Regions from separate parts of the Homo sapiens genome. Here region 1 is linked to region 2. Evidence: promoter capture Hi-C in human tissues and cell types (Jung and others, 2019). All regions are on one chromosome and are shown on one strand. Each heading gives the region's core, a stretch centred on a gene start or on the middle of the fragment in contact. The rest is flanking DNA. Distances are from core to core; before and after follow the strand shown. Region 1 has its middle 28 kb from the start of SMIM19. Region 2 holds the start of VDAC3 (voltage dependent anion channel 3).

Region 1 (6,776 bases), core at 3,186-5,685, 180 kb before region 2:
CCATCCTGGATAACACGGTGAAACCCCGTCTCTACTAAAAATACAAAAAATTAGCCGGGCATGGTGGCGGGCACCTATAGTCCCAGCTACTCAGGAGACTGAGGCAGGAGAATGGCCTGAACCCGGGAGGCGGAGCTTGCAGTGAGCTGAGATCGCGCCACGGCACTCCAGCCTGGGCGACAGAGCAAGACTCCATCTCAAAAACAACAACAACAACAATAATAATATCCTCAAATTCAAACAGATACAGCATAGATTGGAATATGCTGGAACTGTTTCTAGTCCTGTGTTCTATTAACTGAGTCGTTACCTAACTCATTTTCTACCTACATTGTTGCTTTCAAACTTGTCCTATAATACACAGAAACATAGAGTTGCCTTTGATTGCACTAAATATAACAATACAAACTGAACAAAAGTCAAATTTTATTTTAATTACTTAGGAGAAAGATAAACTTGATCCTTTCAACTGGCCAATAACGACAAGTAATAATAGAGTTCAGAAGGAAAAAGATTATTTGGACCATGAAGTGACTTCCCTCCATTCAGAATAGTTAGGAGCTAAAATTACTTTCAAACAGCTTGAAAAAGCAAATGTCAAGCTTCAGTCAAAGCTGTTAGTGAGCAGAACTGTGTCTACATTTGTCATATGTTGTTAATGTGTTCATCTCAAATTTCTAAACGGCTATAATTAAGGAGTAGGTTTCTAAAAATTTATAATCCTTTTGAAGCCTACTAGATTTGCCAAGGTCTTTTTTTTTTTTTTTTAACAAAGAAAGCGTATATTTGACAAGTATTAAGTTTGCATAAGTAAGAATTGTTAATTCTGTTTTGCCGTGGCAACGGACCACAGGCCATTAAATAAGGCAGCTTAGAAGGAGCCAAAAACATCCAGAACTTCAAGTAAAGTTAGAATGCAATTAAATAAGCAAATTCTGAGTAATTAACTTTTCAACCACTTTTTAGTCATTTATAATTTGTAGATAAATGAAAATCTGTCCTTGGAACTTGCATGTCTAAAACCCAGTCTCCAGTCCTCTGTGGAAAACATCACAAGTCTGAAAGATGAAAAGAGAGAGCTGACTCTGATGATCAAAAGTTTCCAAGAAGAAAGGGAGCAAATCCTTTCCCAGAAAGATTTGCTGATAAAAGCCCTGACTGCTCAAAAGGGGGTGTAAAGTTTATCTGTGATTAGCCAGGCTGGCACCTTCTTCAGTGATCTGGGCTGTTGACATATTTCCTCAGTAGCAGTCAGTTTCCAATACACAATGTTTGATTATCAATGTTTTATTGATATGTAAGACAGTAATGGGATGTTAGACTTTGCTTAAGAACTATAAGCTGTGGGCAGGGTGTGGTGGTGTACGCCTATCATCCCAACACTCTGGGAGGCTGGAGGATCACTTGAGGCCAGGAGTTTAAGACCAGCCTGAGCAACAGAGCAAGACCCCATCTCAAAAAAAAAAAAAAAAAAAAAATTAGCCAGGCATGATGGCACAAATCTGTAGTTCCAGCTACTCAGGAGGCTGAGGTGGGATGACTGCTTGAGCCCAGGAGGTCGAGGCTGCAGTGAGCTAGGATCATGCCACTGCATTTCAGCCTGGGTGACAGACCCAGACTTTATCTTAAAAAAAAAAAATGGGCCAGGCGTGGTGGTTCACACCTATAATCCCAGCACTTTGGGAGGCTGAGGCGGGTTAATCACAAGGTCAGGAGTTCAAGACCAGCCTGGCCAACATAGTGAAACCCTATCTGTACTAAAAATACAAAAATTAGCCAGACATGGTGGTGGGCACCTGTAATCCCAGCTACTCGGGAGGCTGAGGCAGAGAACAGCTTGAATTTAGGAGGCGAAGTTTTCAGTGAGACGAGATCACACCATTGCACTCTAGCCTAGGCAATAGAGTGAGACTCTGTCTCAAAAATAAATAAATAAATAAATACTATAAACTGTGGAAGATGGTGACTCAAATAAATTCAAAACATGATGTTGTGACACTTGGACTACTGTGGTAATTTGCTAAGTCTGAATATAAAAATGGAAAAAGTTAATGTGTAATAAAATCACCTGCACCATGACTACTCTTATCTTTCTTTTTTTTCCTTTCTTTTTTTAATTTGGAGATGGAGTCTCGCTCTGTCGCCAGGCTGGAGTGCAGTGGCAGGATCTTGGCTCACTGCAACACCTGCCTCCCCGGTTCAAGCGATTCTCCTGCCACACCCAGCTAATTTTTGTATTTTTAGTAGAGATGGGGTTTCACCATGTTGGCCAGGCTGGTCTCAATCTCCTGACCTTGTGATCCACCTGCCTTGGCCTCCCAAAGTGCTGGGATTACAGGCGTGAGCCACTGCACCCGGCCTTGGTTTTTGTCAGTCTTAAAATGGGACATAAGATAGGGTTAAACATGTGATTGGTCCACCCAAGATTGCCCAAATACCAACTGGGAAGTTTGTAGGTCACTTGCAACCCCTTTATAGTTCCTTCCCTTTAGAATGCAAATGGATTTGTGTTTGCTGGAATGATCATTAATTGTAGGAGCTTAGAGATGGCAAACCAATTAAAATGCTGGTATAGCAAACTAATTTGGAAAAGCAAATGTGTAACTTGGATTGTTTGCTTTTGCAGTTTTTCCATGTAACCACTTTCATTGGCATGATAAATGGAAAGTTTGTTACTGAACACTTTCAAAGAATAATTATATATATTTTTTAAAAATTTTAACTCCTCGCTGGGTGCAGTGACTCACACCTGTAATCCCTGCGCTTTGGGAGGCCAAGGCGGGTGGATCACCTGAGGTTGACAGTTCAAGACCAGCTTGGCCAACATGGTGAAAACCCATCTCTACTAAAAATACAAAAAATTAGCTGGGCATGGTGGAAGGCACCTGTGATCCCAGCTACTAGGAAGGCTGAGGCAGGAGAATCGCTTGAACTCAGGAAGTGGAGGTTGTAGTGAGCCGAGATCATGCCACTGCACTTCAGCCTGGGCAACGTGGCAAGACTCTATCTCAAAACAAAAACAAAACCTGAAAATTATCTAGAACACTGTGCTCTGGAGTGTTTTGAGGGGAAAATCCTTTCTTCCTTTTTGAGGGGAAAATCCATTCTGCTTTTTGGAGGGTATTAATAGCATAAGTTGTGGAGCTTTACTAACTTTCACAACATGCACTGGACTGCCAGCAAAGAGCTGCAAGAATGGTAGAATCCCTGTTCCTCTCTTTTGTGCTGAGGGGAAGAAGCTATGAGGATGAAGTTATTCCATAGACCTGCTGCTTTCTGAGACAGCATGGCACTGGATTCAACCTGATTTGATTAAGTAAATATTTGTTAAACACCTACTATTGTGTCCGGAATTTATTCCTTCCAGTGAGTTCTAGGTCTCGCTGACTTCAAGAATGAAGCTGCAGACCTTTGTGGTGTTACAGCTCTTAAAGATGGTGCGGACCCAAAGAGTGAGCAGCAGCAAGACTTATTGTGAGGAGCAAAAGAACAAAGCTTTCACAGTGTGGAAGGGGACCCGAGTCGGTTGCCGCTGATGGCTCGGGTGGCCAGCTTTTCTTTCCTTATCTGGCCCCGCCCACATCCTGCTGATTGGTCCATTTTACAGAGTACTGATTGGTCCATTTTACAGAGTACTGATTGGTCCATTTACAATCCTTTATCTAGACACAGAGCACTGATTGGTGCATTTACAATCCTCTAGCTAGACAGAAAAGTTCTCCAAGTCCCCACTCGACCCAGGAAGTACAGCTGGCTTCACCTTTCACTATCTCAAGGTACTACAGTGGATCAAGGAAAAACTTGACATGAGAGGAAAGGAAATAAAGTTTTATTTGTGTGTGTGTTTTTCTAAAACCAGTTCTAAGTTAAAAACATTCGTATATATAGTATTTTACCATATGTTTGTCAGAAACCATCTTTTTATATACCTGCCTTTGTAACACTCCCATTTGCCCCTGGGCAAACATTTTTTCCCTATCTAATCTTCACATTTCTCAACACTGAAAAAGTTCAGGACTGGAAGGGTCACTCACACGTTCACTTTTATTCATGCCTAAGGTGGTGACCAAAAGATTATTATCTGCTGGCCGGGTGCGGTGGCTCACGACTGTAATCCCAGCACTTTAGGAGGCCAAGGCAGGTGGATCACAAGGTCAGGAGTTCAGGACCAGCCTGAACCCCCATCTCTACTAAAAACACAAAAATTAGCCAGGCATGCTGGCAGGTGATGGTAATCCCAGCTACTCGGGAGGCTGAGGCAGAGAACTGCTTGAACCTGGGAGGCAGAGGTTGCAGTTAGCCGAGATTGCACCACTGCACTCCAGCCTGGGTGAGACAGTGAGACTCCATCAAAAAAAAAAAAAAAAAAAGATTATTATCTGCTGTCCTCTTGAGAGGTGAAGCCAGCTGGGCTTCTGGGTCAGGTGGGGACTTGGAGAACTTTTTTGTCTAGCTAAAGGATTGTAAACCCACCAATCAGCACTGTGTGTCTAGCTAAAGGTTTGTAAATGCACCAATCAGCACTCTGTAAAATAGACCAATCAGCGCCCTGTAAAATGGACCAATCAGCACGATGTGGGTGGGGCCAAATAAGGGAATAAAAACTGGCCACCCGAGCCAGCAGTGGCAACCTGCTTGGGTCCCCTTTCATGCTGTGGAAGCTTTGTTCTTTTGCTCTTCACAATAAATCTTGCTGCTGCTCACTCTTTGGGTCTGCATTACCTTTAAGAGCTGTAACACTCACTGCAAAGGTCTGTGGCTTCACTCCTGAAGTCAGTGAGACCACGAAACTACTGGGAGGAACAAACAACTCTGGATGTGCCACCTTTAAAAGCTGTAACGCTCACTGGGAAGGTCTGCAGCTTCACTCCTGAAGTCAGTGAGACCACAAACGCACTGGAAGGAAGAAACTCGACACATCTGAACAACTGAAGGAAAAAACTCCAGACACACCATCTTTAAGAACTGTGACACTCACCATGAGGGTCCGCAGCTTCATTCTTGAAGTCAGCAAGGCCAGGAACCCACCAGAAGGAATCAATACTGGACACATTTTGGCGATCACGAAGGGACTATTGCCTATCGCTAAGCGGTGAGTACCATCAGACCCCTTTCGCTTGCTATTCTGTCCTATTTTTCCTTAGAATTCGGGGGCTAAATACTGGACACCTGTTGGCCAGTTAAAAGTGGCTAGTGTGGCCGCCAGACTAAAGACACAGGTGTCAGGCTTTCTGGGAAAGGGCTCTCTAACAACCCCTGATTCTTTGGAGTTGGGAGTGTTGGTTTGCCTGGAACCAGCTTCTGCTTTTCCTGTACTTCTGGGCTGAGCCTAGGGTCAACAGAGAGGAAAGCCATTCAGTTCCTAGGGTCCTGACAGCAAGTTGTTTGACCCTGCAGCCATGAGTGGAACTCTCAAAGTCACATCGCCCAAGCGAGACTCACCCATCTATCCTATCTATCCTGACCCTTGCCTCCTGGGTCCTAATGCCTGTCAGACAAACTTCCTCTCGCCTCTCTTCTCCAAGGCTAGTCCCACTTCTAAAAACCACTCCCTGTCTCTGGTGCTTTTCTAGTTTCTCCTATAAGAATTATTTCTAGTATAAACTCCAGGACTCTGTTACCTTCTTTAGGCACCCAGTCTCACCAATCAGAAAGATATAATTTTTGCCCAAAGCCCTGTTGGCGGGGGGGGACTATCTTATCTGGAATTTTAGGATCCCTCCTCAGACTAGCAGGCCTAAAAAAAGCTATTCCTGAAGCTAGGATGTGGGGAGCCTCAGAAATTGTATCCTTCCTATTCATATACGTGAGGACAAAAGGCATCACCCTTCCAACTCTGGAGATCCCTTCCCTCTCTCAGGGTATGGCCCTCCACTTCATTTTTGGGGGATAACATCTTTATGGGACACAGGTAAAGTCCCAATACTAACAGGAGAATGCTTAGGACTCTAACAGGTTTTCAAGAATGCATTGGTAAGGGCCACCAAATCCGATTTTTCTCAGTCCTCTTTGCAGCCTAGGAGGACAGGCAAGGGTGCAGGTTTTTGAGAATGCATCAGTAAGAGCCACTAAATCTGATCTGACATTCCTCCGTCCTCCTTATAGTCTAGGAGGAAAACTAGTGTTTCTGCTGCTGTGTCGGTGAGTCCAACTTTTCTGATCAGGAGGGTCCATGGACCATTGCAGGTTCTTGGGCAAGAGGCTGCTGCTGCTGCATCGGTTAGCACAACTATTCCAATCAGCAGGGTCCAGGGACCATTGTGGGTTCTTGGGCAAGAGGTGTTTCTGCTGCTGCCTCAGTGAGTGCAACTATTCCAATCAGCAGGATCCAGGGACCGTTGTGGGTTCTTGGGCAGGGGGAGAAACAAACAAACCAAAACCATGGGCAGTTTTGTCTTTCAGATGGGAAACACTCAGGCAACAACAGGCTCACCCTTGAAATGCATCCTAAGCCATTGGGACCAATTTGACCTGCAAACCCTGAAAAAGAGATGGCTCATTTTTTTCTGCACTATGGCCTGGCCCCAATATTCTCTCTCTGGTGGGGAAAAATGGCCAACTGAGGGAAGCATAAATTATAATACTATCCTGCAGCTTGACATTTTCTGTAAGAAGGAGGGCAAATGGAGTGAAATACCTTATGTCTGAGCTTTCTTTTCATTGAAGGAGAATCCACAAGTATGCAAAGCTTGCAATTTACATCCCACAGGAGGACCTCTCAGCTTACCCCCATATGCTAGCCTCCCTATAGCTCCCCTTCCTATTAATAAGCCTCC
Region 2 (6,528 bases), core at 3,984-6,483:
AAACCTTATGCACAAAATTAAGGTAGAGGGGTAGTCTACATTTCTCCCTTGTCAGCATCAATTCTTAGTTTGAAGGTCTGTCACGAATCTAAAATGCCACAGGTACAAATCTCAGAAAAAAAGGCTAGAATTGTTCTAAGTTGAGTTCCAGGCTCACGATTCACAGTTCAGTTTGTGTCTAATTTCATAATTTGGTCAAACAAGTGCAAAACACATTTATAACATGCATATAACATGCATATAGCTCTACATTAAATGCTTAGTAAGCAACAAAACAAACAAAAATGTTACTGTTAAGTAGATAGCATATGAGAAAAATATCAAGACACAATCTAAGAAATTTGGAACAATGATTGAAATTTATCCTAAATCAATACCAGAAACCAAAAGCAGCCATAAAAACAAGCATACGAATAAGCTTTTTTTTCTTACCATCTGAATGAATATTACCACACAACAGCAGCATGAAAGGGAGATAAAATTTTAGTTGATAATTTTTGCAACACAAACCTAATGAGCAAATTCTGGAACCTACACAAAATGAGAATGATTCTTCTATTTTAACAGAACTATATACACAGCGTGCCCATCTTAGTAAGGGAGGTGCATATATATTTATTTACTCCAGAGAAACCCAGGGAAAGAATGATGGTCACAAACCATGATTATACACAGTATCATTAGAATTCCACATGTCTTTGTCCTTCTAATTATACATTCAGAAATAAAATTTTCATGGGTTTGAATGGATAAATACCAAAAACGATGCAGCCAATGAGGAGAAATCAGAGTAAGGTAAATTAAAACTTAACCTACTTGCTGAGATTTATTAAATAAAAGCAATTTTTTCTGAGACGGAGTCTTGCACTGTTGCCCAGGCTGGATGGAGTACAGTGGCACGATCTCTGCTCACTGCAACCTCTGCCTCCTGGGTTCATGCCATTCTCCTGCCTCAGCCTCCCAAGTAGCCAGGACTACAGGCACCCGTCATCAGGTCTGGCTAATTTTTTTGTATTTTTAGTAGAGACGGGGTTTCACCATATTAGCCAGGATGGTCTCAATCTCCTGACCTCGTGATCCGCCCGCCTTGGCCTCCCAAAGTGCTGGGATCACAGGCGTGAGCCACCGCACCTGGCCTTTTTTTTTTTTTTTTTAAGACAAAGTCTCACTCTGTCACCCAGGCTGGAGTGCAATGGCTTGGTCTCGGCTCACTGAAACCTCCACCTCCCAGGTTCAAGAGATTCTCCCGCCTCAGCCTCCCGAGTAGCTGGGACTATGTGCGTGCCACCACACCCAGCTAATTTTTGGTATATTTTTAGTAGAGACGGGGTTTCAGAATGTTGACCAGGCTGGTCTCGAACTCCTGACCTCATGACCCGCCCACCTCGGCCTCCCAAAGTGCTGGGATTACAGGTGTGAGCCGCTGCACCCAGCCAAAAGCTATTGTTAATGATACTTTGAAAATATGCCAACATAGCCTTTACTGTAGTCTTTACTTCCAATAAAAAAAACTTTATAAACATCAGTTAAAAACTGTAGAATAATGTACATGCATACGTGCAGAAATACATTTTATTTACATATTTTGTTTCGACTAATCATGAAGGGGCAGAGTAAAGTTAATTTGTTTTTGTAAAAGGGTAATAAAATTTCCATGAACCCATTATCATGGAAGTGAGGTTTTTGGTGCCCATATACATATTCATGAAAGTATAAACATATGACATGGGTCAAAAAATATATATTCTACATCTTCTGAGTGAAAGCTGTAGTATACTCTGAGAAACACAAAAGGTCTCTTCAAAAATTCAACTTGGTTGTTTATTTTAATTGGCTAAGAATGCTGTTTAAAATCTGAGAGGACAAAGCTGTGGGGAAGACAGCATGGTGCTGGTTCAAGTAACTAGACTGTCATGATTTTAAACAGATTCCTTTAAGTTAATTATGTTACATTCATTAAAAATATATTAGATACTCACCACTCCACTACAAGACTTGGTTTTCAGGTCTATCTTGACCATGCCAAAGCCTATACACACACACACACAAAAACACAGTAATGTACAAAATGTGACATTCACTAGTTTTTGCAACTCAGAAATTATGAAATAGCCTATAGTACCTTCCATATGAAAAATGCATAGTATTTTCATTGGGTGAGAGTTCCTCAAGAAACTGAATTATAACCAAATAAATGCAGTATAATTTTCAAGCACTCAAAATGAATAAAGATATACTTTTAAAATGTAAGTTAAAGAAAAAAATAAATGAAAGGAATATGCACTATTCCAAGAATCAAAATTGCTGAAAATAGTGTGCTGCTATATATATCGTTTAAAATATAGTTAACATTACTAGTTAATAAGAAAAAATCAAATATGTACAGCACATAAATTTAAGTTAAATTTTAAAACCTAAAAAATATTTATTTAGGATCAGAATATACATTACTCCAAAGAAGTCAAAAGTTATGTTGTCACTTTCATAAAAACAATGCCACTGTTTGGAGGGAGGAAAAGTTCTACCCCCTAATTTAATTGTCCTCAGGGCCAGACAAAGAGACATAAATGTTATATATATTATTCTACATTCCAGATAACATTAAATATGGACATGTATATGCATCTGTATATGTATATAATTGCTTTTAATGCTTGTAAGGGGTTCTGCCTCTAAAGAATGAGGTCTAATAGCCTGTTAATAGTTATCCCCTTAAATCTTGTGAAGTGGAATAATGCTGACTTACCCTTATTTTACTAACACAGTATTTACACACAGTAGGCATTCAACACTAACCTTTACCCCAAACTGGAAAGTTACAATAGCATACTTACCATATCCTTTGTTGAAGACATCCTTAGCAGCCTTTCCTAGGTCACAGTACGTTGGTGTGTTACACATATCTTATAAAGAAAAACAGGGCAAAGGAATAAAAATAACCATTTAGTATTTATTCACCCACAGTTCTTCTGCTGTTTAATCCTGTGAGAAGGGGTATACAGTTTTCTCTTCCTGTGTATCATTAATGCTTTAATGCAATCAAAGGTATGAGACAGCAGTCTGCTCCTTAAAAAACAGACCTTTCCAGAATACTGAGAATAAAACAGTTTTCCCGTGAGATTCAGAGGTCATCTTTCTGATTGCATTTCAAAGAAAAGTAAGTTCTTACAGGATGAAAAAGATGCTATGTTAAACTGGACTTCTTTTAAAAATATATGCAAAATTTACCTTAGAAAAATCTCTCTCAGGCTCTTATGAAACCAAAGACCTGTATAAGACAACAATGGAAATTTTTAAAGAAACTGTTAAAAGATGCAATCAAAATCCTCAGGGTTAACATTTTTCTCCTCTGAAATTCAGTTCTTAAAATAAGAATTTACCATACGAATTGAAGTGTATTCATCTAGAATATATCTTCTCTCAAAGCTCTTCTTAAAGTGCTATAATTTTACCCATTAACCAGAAATATGACAGATTCTACCTGCAGCAACCTGCTTACCAAAAGTTAGTGTAAACTCTGAAGTTAAAGCCTTCAAAAACCTCAGGTGCCTTGATTTTTCATCTTGCCTACTAAAAATCTGCCCAGCTTTGCTACTGGTAATATGACCCTCATATCAAATTCTCAGAGCTATCAACACTGCTGATTATCTCATTCCTTTGCCCTCTTTGTATCATGGGAAATCTTTCTGCAGCAGGTTCTTCTGTATTCCTCTCGCAGACTCAAAAGCTATGTCTAACCAATTACAGAGCCACCTCTAGCAGTGCCATTAGCCCATATGTCAGAAAAATCCAGAGTACCAGCTAGCCCTTGCAATTGCTACGCCTGAATGATCTACACATTTAAGCTCATATTTATTTATATATAGCCCAGCTCTTAATCCAGACTTCTGCTAAGCTTCTGCCTACCCCATCATACCAAACATATACATATGATGCACTTAAATGGGAATGCATTTAAGTTTTGTTCCTTAACATAAACCTGTCAAATATGACAGACACTATGATATAAAGAGACTAGTATAAAAAACTAAAAAGAAAAAAAAATTAAAGAGGAAACGGTAGTATAAATGTACTGACTCATTCCATAGTAAAACTTTGCTCTAAGCTACCAGGTTTCATAATTCACTTACAGAACGATTATTTTACAATTCAATCCCTTGTACTAAAGTGATCAATTCTAGGCTTTTTATATTATCCCAATTGCAATTTGATATTACTCTTTATGATTACAACTGATGTTGATATTTGTTGAAATTTTGCCAGAAGTCTGTAATTTGGGAAGTAAGTATAGAAATGCAGGCAGTATATATTGAAATAGAAATGTTAAAGCTTTACAGTCTGGTTTTTCATACTGCCGAGAAAAGATACACTTAAATGTTTAGAAGCACTATATATACGTCTAGGGACTATTTACAATATTTCAGCATTTTGTTTTGTTATTTTTCAAAACCAGTACGAGATACTATGCAAAAGTCACGTAGCTGGTTTAGTATACTAACTGACCTCAATTCTGCCTAGTTCAAGCTGACTTTTTCAGGCCTATGACTCTGATGGGAAATGCACTGCTAGTATGATCAAGCAAAAATCGAGAACAACAGAAACTTCATGTTCCTCGAGAGTAAAGCTACAACCACACGTCTCCACCAGCTCTACAGAATGCACCTGCCCATAGATGTGCACACTGCACAGAGGCTGCAGGAGACGCAGACGGGGAAAGGCGTTAAGCCGGTTGCTACTGCTTTACAAAGCCACTAACTTGACAGCCAGTACAGAGCCCTTTTCGTTCCTCGCTTCTCCGTTTTGAATTGCACGCAGGGCACCCTCCCTCGGCCGTAAGGAGGGGGCAGGGGCGGGCGGGAGATGGGTGTGGGGTTCGAGGATCCAACTTCCCTAGAACCGATCTCCTTTCTAGCTGACCCCTGGGAGGAAAGTGCGGTCCACACGCCGGCGGGATAGGTCGCTGCCCGCGCCCGGAGGCCACTTGCCCCGCCGTGCTGCGGCTCCATCGCCTGAGGTGGCCCGGGCGGGTCCCGGCGGGAGCGAGCGGCCCCGGCCCCCCGCGCCCCGGTAGCCTGCTCCCTGCCCACAGAGCCTCCGTTAGGCCCGCCTCCCGCCTGGCGCTCTGCTCGGCCGCGGCCCACCGCTCTCCGGGACTGGAGCCCGCGCGGCCTCAGCTCTCCTCACCTCCACCCCGAGGGCCTGTCTCTGCTCCGCCAGGGCAACGCTGAAGGTCTTCAAACCAACGCCGTCCGCGCCTGCGCAGCCTCGCACCCCCAGCCGCGCCTGCGCGCCGCCCCTCCCCGAGAGCGCCTGTGCGCCGGCGTGTCGCGCCACGGTCGCGCGCTTCGGAGCAAGGCGCGGAGACGAACAGCCGGGCCAAGCCAGCACCACCAACTGTCCGGCTCCGCAGCGCGCGTGCGCAGGAGGGCTCGGTGTGGACAGTGAGGTTGACTGGGGGCCCAAGAGGCTGGGGACCGCACCTGTGCCCTTGAGGGGACTCATTCTCGCGAGAATGCGCGAGGTTGCTAGTTAACTGTTGCCATGGGTGCGGCCGCGAAAAGGCCGCAGGGTGCCGGACCCCAGGTTTGAGGCATGCCGCAGGCCGGAGTGTAGTGGCGCGATCTTGGCTCACTGGAGCCTCGACCTCCTGGGCTCAAGCCGTCCTCCTGCCTAAGCCTCCTGAGTAGGAGGGTCCACAGAAGCGCGCCACCACGCCCGGCTAATTTAATTTTTTTTTTTTTTTTTTTTTGGTAAAGACGGGAATCTCCCTATGTTTCCAGGCTGGTCTCGAACTCCACGGCATAAGTGATCCGCCCGCCTGCGCCTACCAGAGTGCTGGGATCACAGGCCTGAGCCCACGCCCAGCCTCTTATGGGAATTTCATTTCAGACTGACCAGACTTCAAGAGTGTCACTCTTAGGTCATCTCGTCTTAAGGATGAGAATACACAGGTCCCCAGGGAGTAAGTGATTGATTCAAGATCCCACAAGTAGTGAGAGATGATAATTCAAAGGGGCAGAGGATGTGGAGGAGAAAAAGCTCTTCTGTAGAGGAGAAGACCAACTAATAAAGGTAGAATAGATGACAGAAATAGAAAATCATCGTCTTGGAACCACCATGATAATAATTGATTCAGGCTGAAATGATCAGTGGACCGTTGAGGATGTTCATATGGTTTCAAAGTATCACCCCCATAGATTACTCACTAAAGAGAAAAGGGTACCTTCACATCAAAGAGACTGATCAAACGGGGGATGGTAGGGACTGACATATGCCCCTGGTGTGAGGCACAGAGAGGGACACAGAGATAATATTCTTGTAAAAGTGTGTAATTTGCCTCTCTTCAGGACGAAACAATCAGGCAAATCCAAACTGAGAGACCTGCAAGACAACTGCCCAGTCTTCAAAAATGTCAGTTTCATGAAAGATTAGGAAAAAGGCTAGTGAACTGCTCTAGGTTAAAGGAAGCAGCCTGTAATCCCAGCACTTTGGGAGGCAGAGGCGGGCGGATCATGAGGTCAGGAGATC

Evidence for each region. The method cuts DNA at HindIII sites, captures the fragments that hold promoters and counts their contacts. A contact is called where the count stands out against the background at its distance.
Region 1: a fragment that was not itself captured here is called in contact with the fragment with the promoter of VDAC3 in region 2 in 2 of the 25 tissues and cell types used here (IMR-90 fibroblasts and aorta).

What each region holds. Positions count from the first base shown.
Region 1 is chr8:42,566,066-42,572,841 of GRCh38, reverse strand. No RefSeq gene overlaps it. Among named protein-coding and RNA genes, the nearest start is that of SMIM19, 28 kb to the right of the region's middle. The HindIII fragment of the contact is 4,772 bases long and covers 2,050-6,776 here.
Region 2 is chr8:42,390,585-42,397,112 of GRCh38, reverse strand. It overlaps VDAC3 (voltage dependent anion channel 3), which reads right to left and starts at 5,233. Exons shown (of 10, transcript NM_005662.7): 1 at 5,185-5,233; 2 at 3,229-3,268; 3 at 2,835-2,903; 4 at 1,980-2,029. The coding sequence starts at 2,901. It also overlaps a transcript of DKK4 not described here. RefSeq lists enhancers at 4,728-5,228, 5,229-5,729 and a silencer at 4,957-5,486. The HindIII fragment of the contact is 12,637 bases long and covers 4,113-6,528 here.